Linked DNA regions of Homo sapiens: region 2 is linked to region 1. The links are contacts of gene promoters, found by promoter capture Hi-C in blood cells and fetal thymus (Javierre and others, 2016). All regions are on one chromosome and are shown on one strand. Each heading gives the region's core, a stretch centred on a gene start or on the middle of the fragment in contact. The rest is flanking DNA. Distances are from core to core; before and after follow the strand shown. Region 1 holds the start of PRRC2C (proline rich coiled-coil 2C). Region 2 overlaps RABGAP1L (RAB GTPase activating protein 1 like).

Evidence for each region. The method cuts DNA at HindIII sites, captures the fragments that hold promoters and counts their contacts. A CHiCAGO score of 5 or more calls a contact.
Region 2: a contact is called between a fragment that was not itself captured here and the fragment with the promoter of PRRC2C in region 1, in 1 of 17 cell types (total CD4 T cells). The highest score is 5.3, in total CD4 T cells.

The regions. Positions count from the first base shown.
Region 1 is chr1:171,482,444-171,488,544 of GRCh38, reverse strand. PRRC2C (proline rich coiled-coil 2C) reads right to left here and starts at 3,015. Exons shown (of 35, transcript NM_001387844.1): 1 at 2,810-3,015. RefSeq lists enhancers at 2,462-3,210, 3,117-3,426. The HindIII fragment of the contact is 3,004 bases long and covers 206-3,209 here.
Region 2 is chr1:174,987,997-174,994,537 of GRCh38, reverse strand. RABGAP1L (RAB GTPase activating protein 1 like) reads right to left here. Exons shown (of 26, transcript NM_001366446.1): 25 at 5,700-5,897; 26 at 1-4,689. The coding sequence ends at 4,537. Among named protein-coding and RNA genes, the nearest start is that of CACYBP, 8.7 kb to the left of the region's middle. The HindIII fragment of the contact is 8,943 bases long and covers 179-6,541 here.

The DNA.
Region 1 (6,101 bases), core at 1,766-4,265:
GCCAGCCAGGGCAACAGAGTTAGGTCTGTCTCTTAAATAGAAAATTTACTAAAGTTACCCTCTCTATAGAACGCTTTTATCCACAAAGGTGTTCTGGCTCATGCATCGATGAGATTAGCGAGGAATTTAAAATGTTATTACTCATAAAACTAACACAGTAACTCTCAGACTTGTAAGCAACAATTAACATAGACTGAGATAAGCTTTCATTGTGTTGTCCTATTCATAAGGTGACAAAATCACGATTTACCGAAATGAAAGTGTGTCATAACTCAGACACAATTTTTGTATGTCCTTCACTGTAAGAATACAATTCTGTACTAACTTATGTAACATTTTACCAATGATCAATTCTTGTCATTTACAAATATGACATAAATAGCATCCAAAACACAAGTTACCTAACTAACAAACTGAAGTAGTGTTTAGGGGTGGCACTTGGAGGCAGACAGGGATATAATATAATCTTCAAAGACATTTTATCACTAAAGAGGGTGGGGTGGGGGTAAGAAGAAGAGAGGGGGCTGGAATGAGCCAGAACTTCTGCATTTTCAGCTATGAACAAGATACTCATCCCAGGGATATTTACTGTAGAGCATAAAGAAATCGCTAAGAAGCAAAATCCTGCATATAAGTAGACATATCAGGGATAAGGGGAGGTGAAATTTTCTTATGTACCTAAAGAAATATATACATCACCCTGAGAATTTACAGATTATTTATTGCTTGGAAGAGAGTATTTTCTTCTACCAATATCCTACCATTCTCCCTCCACTATTAGTTGACCTTTTACTATGCACTAAGCATAGTAATAAGCCCTTTACATACATTATCCATTATCTTTTTTTACTCCTATAAAAGCCTCTGAGGGAAGTCCTATTATCATCACCATTTTACAGATGAGGGAATATTCTACCAATAATATAGATCAGACGCCTAAATTTAAAAATTATATCTACGACATGGTAGAGTTAGTTTTAAGTTATCTCTAAGCACTCAAATAGAAAAGGACACAAAAAAATTAGCCTCTACCCCAAGTCCAAAGTGGATATATTCCATTTTTACAACTTTCAAAACTTTAACCTTAGCATGCAACAATATTCATATACTAGTCAAGCTAAAGAAAAACTACTAGTTAATAATGCTTTATCTTATTTAGTTACTGTAGTTTATAATTTAAAAAGCAGGTTGAAGGTTTAGAGCATCCCCTTTGGGTTCAGACAGTATGGAATTGAACCTACACAATACCACCAATAACTGCTATGTGACCTTGGTCAGACTACTCTCTCAGATTTCATTTCCTCATCTGTAAAATGGGGATGATCTTAATAGCACTTTTCTCAAAGGTCTGTTGTGGAGATTAAAAAAAAAATGTATGAAAAGGACTTATTACTGTGCTCAGTGTATAGCAAAAGGTCACCTAATGGAGAACAGCCACACATAAGCTAAGCAGAGCAAACACAATCACTTAAAAAGGCTATATTCTGAAAATCCACTTACAGAAAAGGAGAGAATTACTATTTGACTACATGCTAAAGACAAAATTCAAGTTCAATTTATTCCTAATTTTTTAGGGGATCAATGCATTTGGGGTGAGCCAGAAAAGATGCTGCAGTGCATCTGTGACACACACCTAAAAATGGCTCCAGTCAAAGCAGCATCTTAATTACCAATATGGGAGGTGAAATCTAGTTTTGAAAAATGGTGGGGTTAGGCTTGGTAGGTGCTTAGTATCACCCTATTATTTTTATTTGCAGGAGTAAGCTATTAAGTACTCAACAATCAAAAAATCCTCCGATTCTTCTGGTGCATTCCAAATGAAAATCTTACAGCAGAGCCGCCTACTGTACAATTCTAAGTACTCTAACGAGGTATGAATCTATGAACCCAGGCTGAAAACCAGCCAATGCGGAAATCCAGGTAGCTTTATAAGCCAGCAAACATCAGGCATGTCAGACCCTCAAAAGATCCCAAATAATGTCAAAACACACATACATCCCTTTAAATTAAAGGTACTCCTCTCATGCAAAGGAAGGAAGACTCTATCAATGTCTCTATAGTGGCCCCATGCCCTTTTCTTCAGTCCTAAAACGGGGCCTTTACCCTGACACCACCAATATCAACGCTATCTCAAAGACAGGGAGCTACCGAGATTCACCACGCAAGTTAGAGGATGGAGCGGCCTAGAGTGTGAAAAGACTACCCAAATCCTCCTCCGGAGTTGGGCAGCACTTCCCTAGCGGAAGTAGGGTTGGTCTTGATTCCCCGAAGAGCCTCTCATCTAACCAGGTCTTTAAACCAGACCCTCCCATACATTGCTCATTGCAAGTCCCACCCTCACTACACAGGAAGAGGTAGACAGTGAAAGCCCCGGCTGAGTCCTTCAGTTGTTTGGGGAAACGCATACCCGACACTAAAAAAAAAAAAAAAAAAAAAAGACTTCACGTCCGCCAGTCCAGGAAGACGGAAACCCCCTTCGCTTACCCGGCAACATGCGTAATCCCCTCGCAGGGCCAGGACTGGGGTCTAGGTGGGAGCAAGACAGACCGGTCCAGAACTCCCGCTGCAGACCACATGGGGCGGGTCTGACTCCGGTTTCCCGCTCCCCAAGCTGGAGGCCGACTTCCCCAGACACAGAGATGATGGTAACCAAACAGAAGGGAAATGCCCGGACCCAAGGCCCTCTCCACGCGGCCCCCTAGCCTCCGGGCGCCAGGGTCTGGGTGCGCTCCCACGCCCCAGGCCGCACTCTGGCCGTTCCCGATGGGGCCCTCTTTGATCGCGGCCCCCACACCCTCGCTTTCCTTACCGGTCAGGGTGAGTGTCAAGTTTGCGCACTTCGAGGGTCTCCGCCGATCTCTGATCGAAAGAAGGGGGAGGGAAAGCTGGGGTTAAAGGGGTGGCCGGAAGGGCCACCAGACTGGAAAAGCCGAAGCTGCGGATGGACAAACCGCCAAAGCACTTTCGCAGCTTTCCGAGGGGGAGCGAGCGAGCGAGAAAAAGAAGCAAGATGGCGGCTAGCCAGCCCCTACGTACTACGTCATGACGCTAAGTACGTAGGTCAAATCTCCGCAAGACCACACTCCTGCGCAGAGACGGCCGGATCACGTGAAGCCTCCGTGGCGGCCCAACCCCGACAGAGGGTGCTGGCGCTTCCTGCTGGACGGAGGGAGTTTCTGCAATCAGAATTATCTTTTCAGGACAAAGCTTGGACCTGAGACCTTTCTAAGAAGTCTTGAATTGACCACGTTTACAAGTTGATAATAAGCCTCAGTGAAATGAGCACTCTTATGTCTGGTGGGTGGATGTGTAAATGGTTGAACCAGCAGTTCGCCAGTATGTCTCAGTGAATTTGGGGCAAGCTGAGAAGTCTTGGTGTATTGAAAAGTTATCACAGAGAGTGAAAGTAAAACTAGTGTGAGGAACAGAGTAGCATGGGCTGCTGAGAGCACTTTTTAAGTTTCTAATTATGGATGTGAGATAAGCCATTCAGTTTATTTATATGATCTCTCCATCACAGTGTTCAGCTCCGTTGAATAGTAAGATTCACCCATGCTGGCTTTTACTAGGCAAGTGTAACATAGGCAGATGAGTGTATCTGGAAGTGGGAGACTACAATGATGATAATATTATGTCAGAACAGATGGCGAATGTTTAGTAAATGGTATCTTTTGTCCTCTTTGTGAACTACCTATGACATATTTAAAATTCAAGGATTTCTTACCACTTCTGGTCTGAACGATCTTCCCCGCCAGTAGCTGGTGTATGTCCATGGAATTGTCACTGTAGCAATGTTAGAATAAATGAAATAATAAAGAGAGGTAAATTATGAACACCTCCCTCCCCACTAATATTAATTTGAAGTAGAAAAGTCTGGACTTGCTTGGTGGCTCATGCCTGTAATACTAATACTTTGGTAGGTCAAGGCAAAAGGATTGCTTGAGACCAGGAGTTCAAGACCAATCTGGGCAACATAGTGAGACCCTACCTCTGCAAAAAAATTAAAAAGAAAAAAAGCTAGCTAGGCATAGTGGCACATGCTTATAGTCCTAGCTACCTGGGAGGCTGGAGGCAAAAGGATCACTTGAGCACAGGAGGTTGAGGCTGCAGCGAGACTCTTTCTCGAAAAAATAGAAAAGAAGAAAAGAAAAAGTTTTTTTATTGATATAGGGTCATTGCCAGGGGAAAGCCTACTGATCATCCACAAGAGGACAAGGAAGCATTACTTTAGTGAATTTCTACAACCTTCTAGGATCTGGTCTATAGTGTCCTGGTCACAGAAACATCTTTCTTTGTTTTTTTGGAGGCAGGGTCTCACTTTGCTGCCCAGGCTGGAGTGTAGTGGCATAATCACAGGTCACTGAAGCCTCAACCTCCCAGGCTCAAGCAATCCACCTGTCTCAGCCTCCCAGGTAGGTGGGACTACAGGTGCTTGCCACAAAACCTGGCTTTTTTTTTTTTTTTTTTTTTTTTTTGCCAGTAGAGACGAGGTCTTGCTATGTTGACTGGGCTGGTTTCGAACTCCTGAGCTCAAGCAAGCCTCCCGCATTGGCCTCCCAAAGTGCCGGAATTACCGGCATGAGCCACCACGCCCAGCCAAATCATCTGTCTTGAGCAATGGAGAACAACTTCAGCAATCAGATGAAATTACATTAACCAAGGTCATAAGACTGACACGTATGGCCGGGCGCGGTGGCTCACGCCTGTAATCCCAGCACTTTGGGAGGCCGAGGCGGGCGGATCACAAGGTCAGGAGATCGAGACCATCCTGGCTAACACGGTGAAACCCAGTCTCTACTAAAAAATACAAAAAAAAATTAGCCGGGCGTGGTGGCGGGCGCCTGTAGTCCCAGCTACTCAGGAGGCTGAAGCAGGAGAATGGCGTGAACCCAGGAGGCGGAGCTTGCAGTGAGCACAGATCCTGCCACTGCACTCCAGCCTGGGCAACAGAGCGAGAGAGCGAGACTCTGTCTCAAAAAAAAAAAAAAAAAAAAAAAGACATGTATTAAATTATTAATTTCTAAGAGCTTTAATTTATACACCTGAACACTCAACAACTGCAAAGCCAATACTTTTTTTTTCTTTTTTTCTTTTAATTTTTGCCAGAAACAGAAAGCCTCCGGTATGCCAGCATGGACCCAAGGTGCTATCTTTTCTTGAGTACATTTTCTCATTTCCCTCCCCTCCCCTCCCCTCCCTCCCTCCTTCTCCCCTCCCCTCCCTCCCTCCCTCCCTTCCCCTCCCCTCCCTCCCTCCCTTCCTTCCTTCCTTGCCTGCCTGCCTTTTCTTCCTTCCTTCCTTCCTTCTTTCTTTTTTTTTTTCCCCATGGAGTCTCACTCTGTTGTCCAGGTGGCGTAATCTCAGCTTACTGCAACCTTCACCTCCCAGGTTCGAGCGGTTCTCCTGCCTCAGCCTCCCGAGTAGTTGGGATTACACAAAGGCGCCACCACGCCCAGCTAATTTTTGTATTTTTGGTTGAGATGGGGTTTCGCCATGTTGGCCAGGCTGGTCTCAAACTCCTGACCGCATGTGATTCGCCTGCCTCAGCCTCCCAACGTGCTGGGATTACAGGTGTGAGCCACTGTGCCTGGCCCCGCTGAGTGCATTTTCTGTGTAGCCAAACCTACTCAGGAAACCAAGGCATTATCAGAAGGTTGCTTGATGAGCACATATTCTGAACAAGTGGAGTTATATGTATAGACTTTTCTTGAGTCATCTATCTTCACAACAGGAGAATTTTGTCCCGAAAATAGAAGTTCTCAATTTCCAATGGCTGCAGTTGCCCGCATTGATCTCCAATATAGTGGTGACATCCTGCTGAGCTGCTGATTTGTGCTCCTTGTCTCCTTAGCAGCACTTGGATGGCCACTGACCCTAAAGTGCCCCCTGTACGTTACTTTCTCTGTTTCCATGGCTACCCAAACCTCTTTGCAATATTATTTCAATAAAAATCAAGTTACAGTTAAATCAAACCAGTTTGTGTTTTAAAGGTGACTTTGCTTATTTCTGCTCCTAGCTATGTATGTGATCTTAAAGTCTAACTTTTAGAGAGCAGTCTTACTGCCTTTGTTTCCAATTTATTGGGGAAAATGTGACTGAAG
Region 2 (6,541 bases), core at 3,401-5,900, 3.5 Mb before region 1:
AACTAATTGCCAATGAAAAAGGAAAATAACTTAAAATGTTCACTTTCTACTCAATGATTCTTTTTTCTTAAGCTTTTCAGAATACCACTAATGACAAACCAGAGATGGAGGTAGGAAGAATGGGATATATTAATGAAATGTTTTTATAGCAGGCAGCAAATTCAGGTGGAGATAAGCTTGACATATGTAGTCTTTTAGATGCAAACTGAGAAAGGAATGCCAGACAGCTGACTGCAGTCACTAAAATCTCCTATATGCCCACTTTTCTCATTACAACTCAAGATCAGCATCTCCTATTGAGGTGCAGCCAAGGTTGAAGTCCTCATTTTGGTCACTTTTGAAAGATAAAGAATTTGCTAAGGTAAAGGGCTTTGCCTGTATTAAATGGAAGCCATTATGAGAGAGGAAGAATGTGTTGGGACAGTTCTAGTTCAGTGTGACTATCAGCATGGCGACGAGAAAGAGTTTTATATCTGGTTGTAGGAAACAGGCTGCAGAGCTGTGGTCTGGCCTTCTGGCTTTCATCATCATTTCTTGAAATCTCAATGTGTATTTGGTTGTGTGGTACCCAGGTAAACAAAAGCAGCAGAGATACTCTATATAAAATTCTTCCAATTAAACACACATACAAACCTAATAGTGTTCAAATCATACAACAGAATTTCTTCACACTCATTTGTAATTGGAGAAAAGGAGTCAGTATTTTGGAGTGTTTTTAAGGGCAAGTTATATAATATAATCATCTTGCTAATCAAGTAAAAGTGTTCTTTCCCAGAAGATAAAACAAAACCAAGGCATTTAATTTTTTAAAAGTTTTTTCCCTTAAAGGGGCCCCCCTAATCAGGCAGGTACCTAAGTGTTTGATGCAAAGGTTGGTGGGAGAGTTAGTAGACAGATTTTAGTGAAAGTATGAAGACTTAAACCCCTACATCAGTTACACATGTGATTCTCCTGGGTGACTGGCTCACTCCTTTAAAGATGTAACTCTATCTCCTCTGCCCAAATCTGTATTGTTTTCCGTTGGTTTTCTCACTTCAGCTAGGAAATAAAGCAACTAGTTATTAACTGGAAAATATTTTAAGAAAATGGAGCAGGGGTTGGAGAAAAATAAATATTAATACATCATAGGAAAAAAATGAAACAAGATACATACTATTAAATATCCCCACATCCATACAAAGGTTGCTTTTCTACTTTACTCAGGACATTTCAGAAAGCCAATGAAGAAGTACTAATTTAACAGCTGGGAGAGGGGCAGAAGACACTGGTTGAATGGCATTCCTATTAGTGTTCCTGATAGGCACTCATAAATAAACAGAACATTAAGTAACAGAATTTCTTTGCATTAAATTATATGTAACTAAATAAAACCAAATTTTGACATGGTTCAGGATGTGGGAAGCTAGCAAACATATGCACTGCAAAATCCAGCTTGGTTTCTTTCAGATTTAAAGACGTGTTTAGATTCTCAAGATACAAAAGCTGATGAACTGAATTATGAAGTTGAATTTCATTCATTTAATTTTTTCCACAGAATTTAATGAAAATAGAAATGATCAATTCTTAGATACTGCAAATATTAGATTTTCAGAGGAATGTTTTGTACAGAGTGCATCCTAGCAAAGGATGAAAAACACTAGAATGTTTTGAAACTTTCCTGGATATTTGGCTGGTTAATCTCTTCTAAGTGAAATTCAAGAGAAGAGATGCAATTCTCAAATATATCTCAAAATAACTAAAATTAAAACTAGGAGTTACTTCATGCTGGGATGCATGAGTTTTCCAACAATAGACAGTGAAGGACATATTGTTTGGAATATTGCTATTATAACATATTGTATGAACAATCATATCACATACCAAATTCTGAATTTTCTTTGTTTCTAGTCTTTACTATTGCTACTGACTCAAAGGCATTGCAGTGAAGGAGAGTTTAGGCTTATGGTACCAACAGGCATACCCAAGTATGATATGGGGCTGGAGAATAAAAAAAAAAAAAATATGTATTGCCCTCGTAATCTTTTGAAAGAGCTAAAAGAAAACTCAAAAGATGGACTTATCAAACTTGAGAGGTATGTACCTGGTGATTTTTCGAGACGGAATTTTGCTCTTGTCGCCCAGGCTGGATGGAATGTAATGCCGTAATCTTGGCCCACTGCAACCTCTGCCTCCTGGGTTCAAGTGATTCTCCTGCCTCAACCTCCCGAGTAGCTGGGATTACAGGCACCCGCCACCAAGCCCGGCTAATTTTTGTATTTTGCAGTAGAGATAGGGTTTCACCATGTTGGCCAGGCTGGTCTCAAACTCCTGACCTTAGGTGATCCACCCACCTCAGCCTCCCAAAGTGCTGGGATTACAGATGTGAGCCACCATGCCTGGCCAGGGGGGATTTTTCTCTTCTCCTCTTTAAAAGGAAAGGGACTATGAAGTTGAACAAGGTCTTTAGATAAGGGATTGACCTAGAGCCATTATGTTTCTCCCTCACCTACTATTATTTAAAGAAAATTACACACTTTAGGCATTCTGTGGAATGTACTTATTTTTGTAAATTGAAACAAGCTCTGTACAGAACTATGAAATTCACAACACAAAAGAGCATCTTTAATTTAGCTGGCCATTTGATAAGGCAACTGCACAAGGCTTCTTGGAATCAAAGCGTAAAGTACCAGTAAAGCTAACAGCCTATACTAAATGATTTACAAAAACAAGCGCCAAGATAACATTTTCTAGCTATTACATTTTACAAAAAAAAAAAAAAAAAAATTAGCTTATCTAGACCACCATGTAGAGAATGTTAAAGCCAACACAGACACTTGGAATGCTGGGTTATGTTCCTTTTTGTTAAGAAAATAAATTTTGTAATGAAAGATGTCAGAACAACAATGAAAGATTTATGTAAGAAAAGTATTATCTGATGAGTATAACATAACAATCACATCAGTTTTATGGGCTGTAGAGAATATAAACACAGATAAAGGGGATTTCACTTTTTAGAACATAAAAGATCATTTTAGAGGAAAAGATCCACTGTGAGCAACTTGGTGCATCCTCCTGGGATGTAGATGGCTCTTATTTGATTCTTCTAAGGGTGTGTTACTTTTAATTGCAAAATATGGCACAGATGAGAATCATTCTGGCACTACAGAGTTTAAGATTCTTTGCAAATAATATGTTCAACAATGAGGCCAATGATTAATATCAACAAATGTTATTGTACATATCTAATAGTAGTTTGGTTGGTTTGAAAGGATCAGAGGCCTCCAAAATAGTTTATAAAATAAAAATAGTTTTGCTCTTATCAAATAATTTCCTGCAAGGACTATTTTTATAGGCATGTTAAATATAATTGAAAAAATATTTCCACTAATTTTTAAACAATAGCTTTACCTTTCCATGAGATAAGTATTTCTGTAAAGGTTTTATATTCAATCAAAAATGTTACAAATGCATTTGTATCTCTTTATGGGTACGAAGGACACATTTTCAGGGAACTACAGAAATCAGAAAAAGTTGCCCAGCATTAAACTAAGATGATGTGAGCCTGACCTCTATTTCCCATTTCAATACTATGTCCTTTAACAAAGTTACAGTATTGTTAGTGTTTCCTTAGCAAGTATATATCAACGTTAAATGAAATACTCTGTCCCTGGTTCTATATTCCACTCTATTCAGCACAATGGCTGAACCTGGGGCTTTTTAGGCGTCTCTGGTAAAGGCTCCCTAAGTCTGTAAGGTGCAATATCCACCTTTAACTTTATAATTGCCAGAAGTCACATCTGTGTCCATACTTTGGTGTACTTAGGAACTCACAAGTCCTATGTGGCATTCTTAAAAGGATCTGTTAGAATACCACAGCCCAAATGATCCTGACCTACACTTATTAAAATTTCAGTTCCTTTTACCTAGCGTATAATCTGAACAGCCCGTCTATTCCTGGCACTTCATTTCCAGATGTACCGAACAGAAAATGAAAGTAAACCAATGATCGCTGATTGGTTCTTTCCTTTGGACAGGATTAACACTTCCCTGGGAATCAGGCTCAGGAGGAAACCTGAGAGTGGTCATGCCTGGCCCCACAGTGTGCTTTATCTGAATAAATCCTGAAAACTTAAGATGTTTAGGTTTCAATTTTTTTTTTCCTGTGACAAAGATCTTCTTATCACTTCAACCTTGGAATAACAGATGTCTCCATTTTTATGTAAGATAAAAATAATTATGAATAATTCTAAATAAAAAAGCATTTAGTTCTGAATTACTTATTTCCAACTAAACATCAGGCAAACAAAATAATGTGTAATACTATGATGGATCTGAACATGGCCTTCCAGAAGCTGGAAAATAGGTATTCAACATAGAACAGGTCAGTTTAAATAGCATCCCTTTGAAAAGTGTCATACAAGAAAGAGTGAGAGCTACTGAAAAATTCTGGCTTGTTTTCTGGCCTCCTTGACTTTCCTTCAAAGGGACACCAGGAAGAATCCTCCCAGATTTCCATTGGTTTGAACATTGTGCTCTTGTGCTTGGGTAAGGCTGGAACTATGTGCTCTCCTTGGGTGGCTGGGTGACCGGTGCTGGCTGCAATGGCTGGGTGCCCGTGGCCGTTTTGATAGAGTTCAGGGTTTTGCTAAACCAAGAGTTTTTCGCAGCTTGGATTTCATTCATAAGGGCTCCTCTCTGATGTTCAAGTTCCTAATTAAAGCAAGAAAATCATCTGAGTTAAATAAATGTTTTCTCTTTGCCAATAAATAAATAAAAGTGTGCAGCTTTTTGGAGTCTCAAGGTATGTGCTGCCAATTTTCCTCCCACAAAACCCAGGAGAGATTGAATTGGCTTCTTAGTACAAGGATAAAGTTAAGAGCTAAAAGACTTATCAAAAATCTAGAATCTGTGCTTTCTTTAAACAGTGAAAGAAAAGCTCATTTTATTCTTTTTTTCCCTGCAAGTTAGGTCCAAATTTAGGTTTAGGTTGCAATCCGATATAACAGGTTTAAAAACCACAAATAAATGTAAACATATGGATGAATTTTTACTGATAGTAGAAGCATGAATGAATTCCAGTTCCAAAGAAATAGGCTTTGCCCTAAGAATGTCCAAGGTCAGAGCAGACACATGGTGGAAGCTGGCTGGTGTGGTGGAGGCTGGTGACATGGCAGCCATGGTGCTGGTAGGGATCACTGGGAAAATGAAATGAAGAAGAGTCCATCAGAAGCCAGGACTATTTCTAATTATATTATGCGCCAATATGGAGAAAGATAATGGGGAAAGAGGTTTGACAAAATGAGCTAAAGATAAAAAGAAGCTCTAAAGGAAAGAACGGGTGTCAGCCAATGTGTGACTCTCAGGGTAGACACAGCAGAGGGGGTTTGGTTTTTCATTTTCAGGATCAGCCACTGAAGTGACCACATTCTGTGAGAAAGGATGTAAGCAAAAAATCTCAGGGTAAAAAAAACAAGCATATGCTTAATTAAATTCCCATAAGATATAATTTTAATTATTAAAATTTCATTTAAAATTATATATTTGTTTATATCAGCGTTAAGAATACATGATATAAAATGTGATTATGCAGGACACATTAGCAGACAGAAAATGTATTCATCATACAATTCTGACCTAGATAGGTGTATTCTGAAGTACTAGAGTATCCTGGACCATTAATTGTTTATTCTTTCTTCTTGTTCTTTTATCAAATCACCAACCTGAATTTTACACTTGGCCTCCACCAACTGCAGTTTGGTTTGTGCCAGTTCCAGTTCCATCTCTCTCAGCTGCTTCTTAAGTGAGTCCTTCTCATCATCTGTTTCAATTCCCTGGTCCTCTCTGCCTGTGGCTGCTAGTTTCAAAGCACCCTCCTTGCTGAAAATGTCACTGCAGTGTTTGCATGCCATCATCTTACCCTAAAGTATCCAAAAGAGATAACCAACATCAAACTATTCCATAGGCTAAATCACCTTCTGAAACAATTTATGACTTTTTTAGATGCTGCTTATTGTCATAGATGCAGGCCCATTTCTGAAGGTTAATTATTTTTCTTGTGCTGCAATCAAAATCATTAGCCCGAACCCAACTATCCAAGACGGGTGCTCCTTTTTCCTGAAGTATCTCTAGAAATACCCTAGAAATAGAAGGTATTGTAGCATCTCTTTGAAATCTGTTCTAGAAATTTTATGCTATCATTATTCTTACTAGATGCCAAGCCCCACACCAAATGCTTTACTTGTAGTATTTCACTTAATCCTAGAGCAACTGTATAAGTAAGCACTATCATCATCCTCATTTCATAAAGAAACTCAGAGTTTAAAGAACTTGCCTGTAGTAGACTGAGGAAGGTCATCATGACTAACCTAAATCTACCCTTGCAACAAAGCACATGTCCTGTTGTTGAATTTTAAGCAAAGAGGACCCCTGTTGCTTAATAAAAGTAACTCCGGCCGGGCCTGGTGGCTCACGCCTGTAATCCCAGCACTTTGGGAGTCCAAGGCAGGCAGATCACAAGGTCAGGAGATTGAGACCAGCCTGGCTAACACGGTGAAACCTCGTC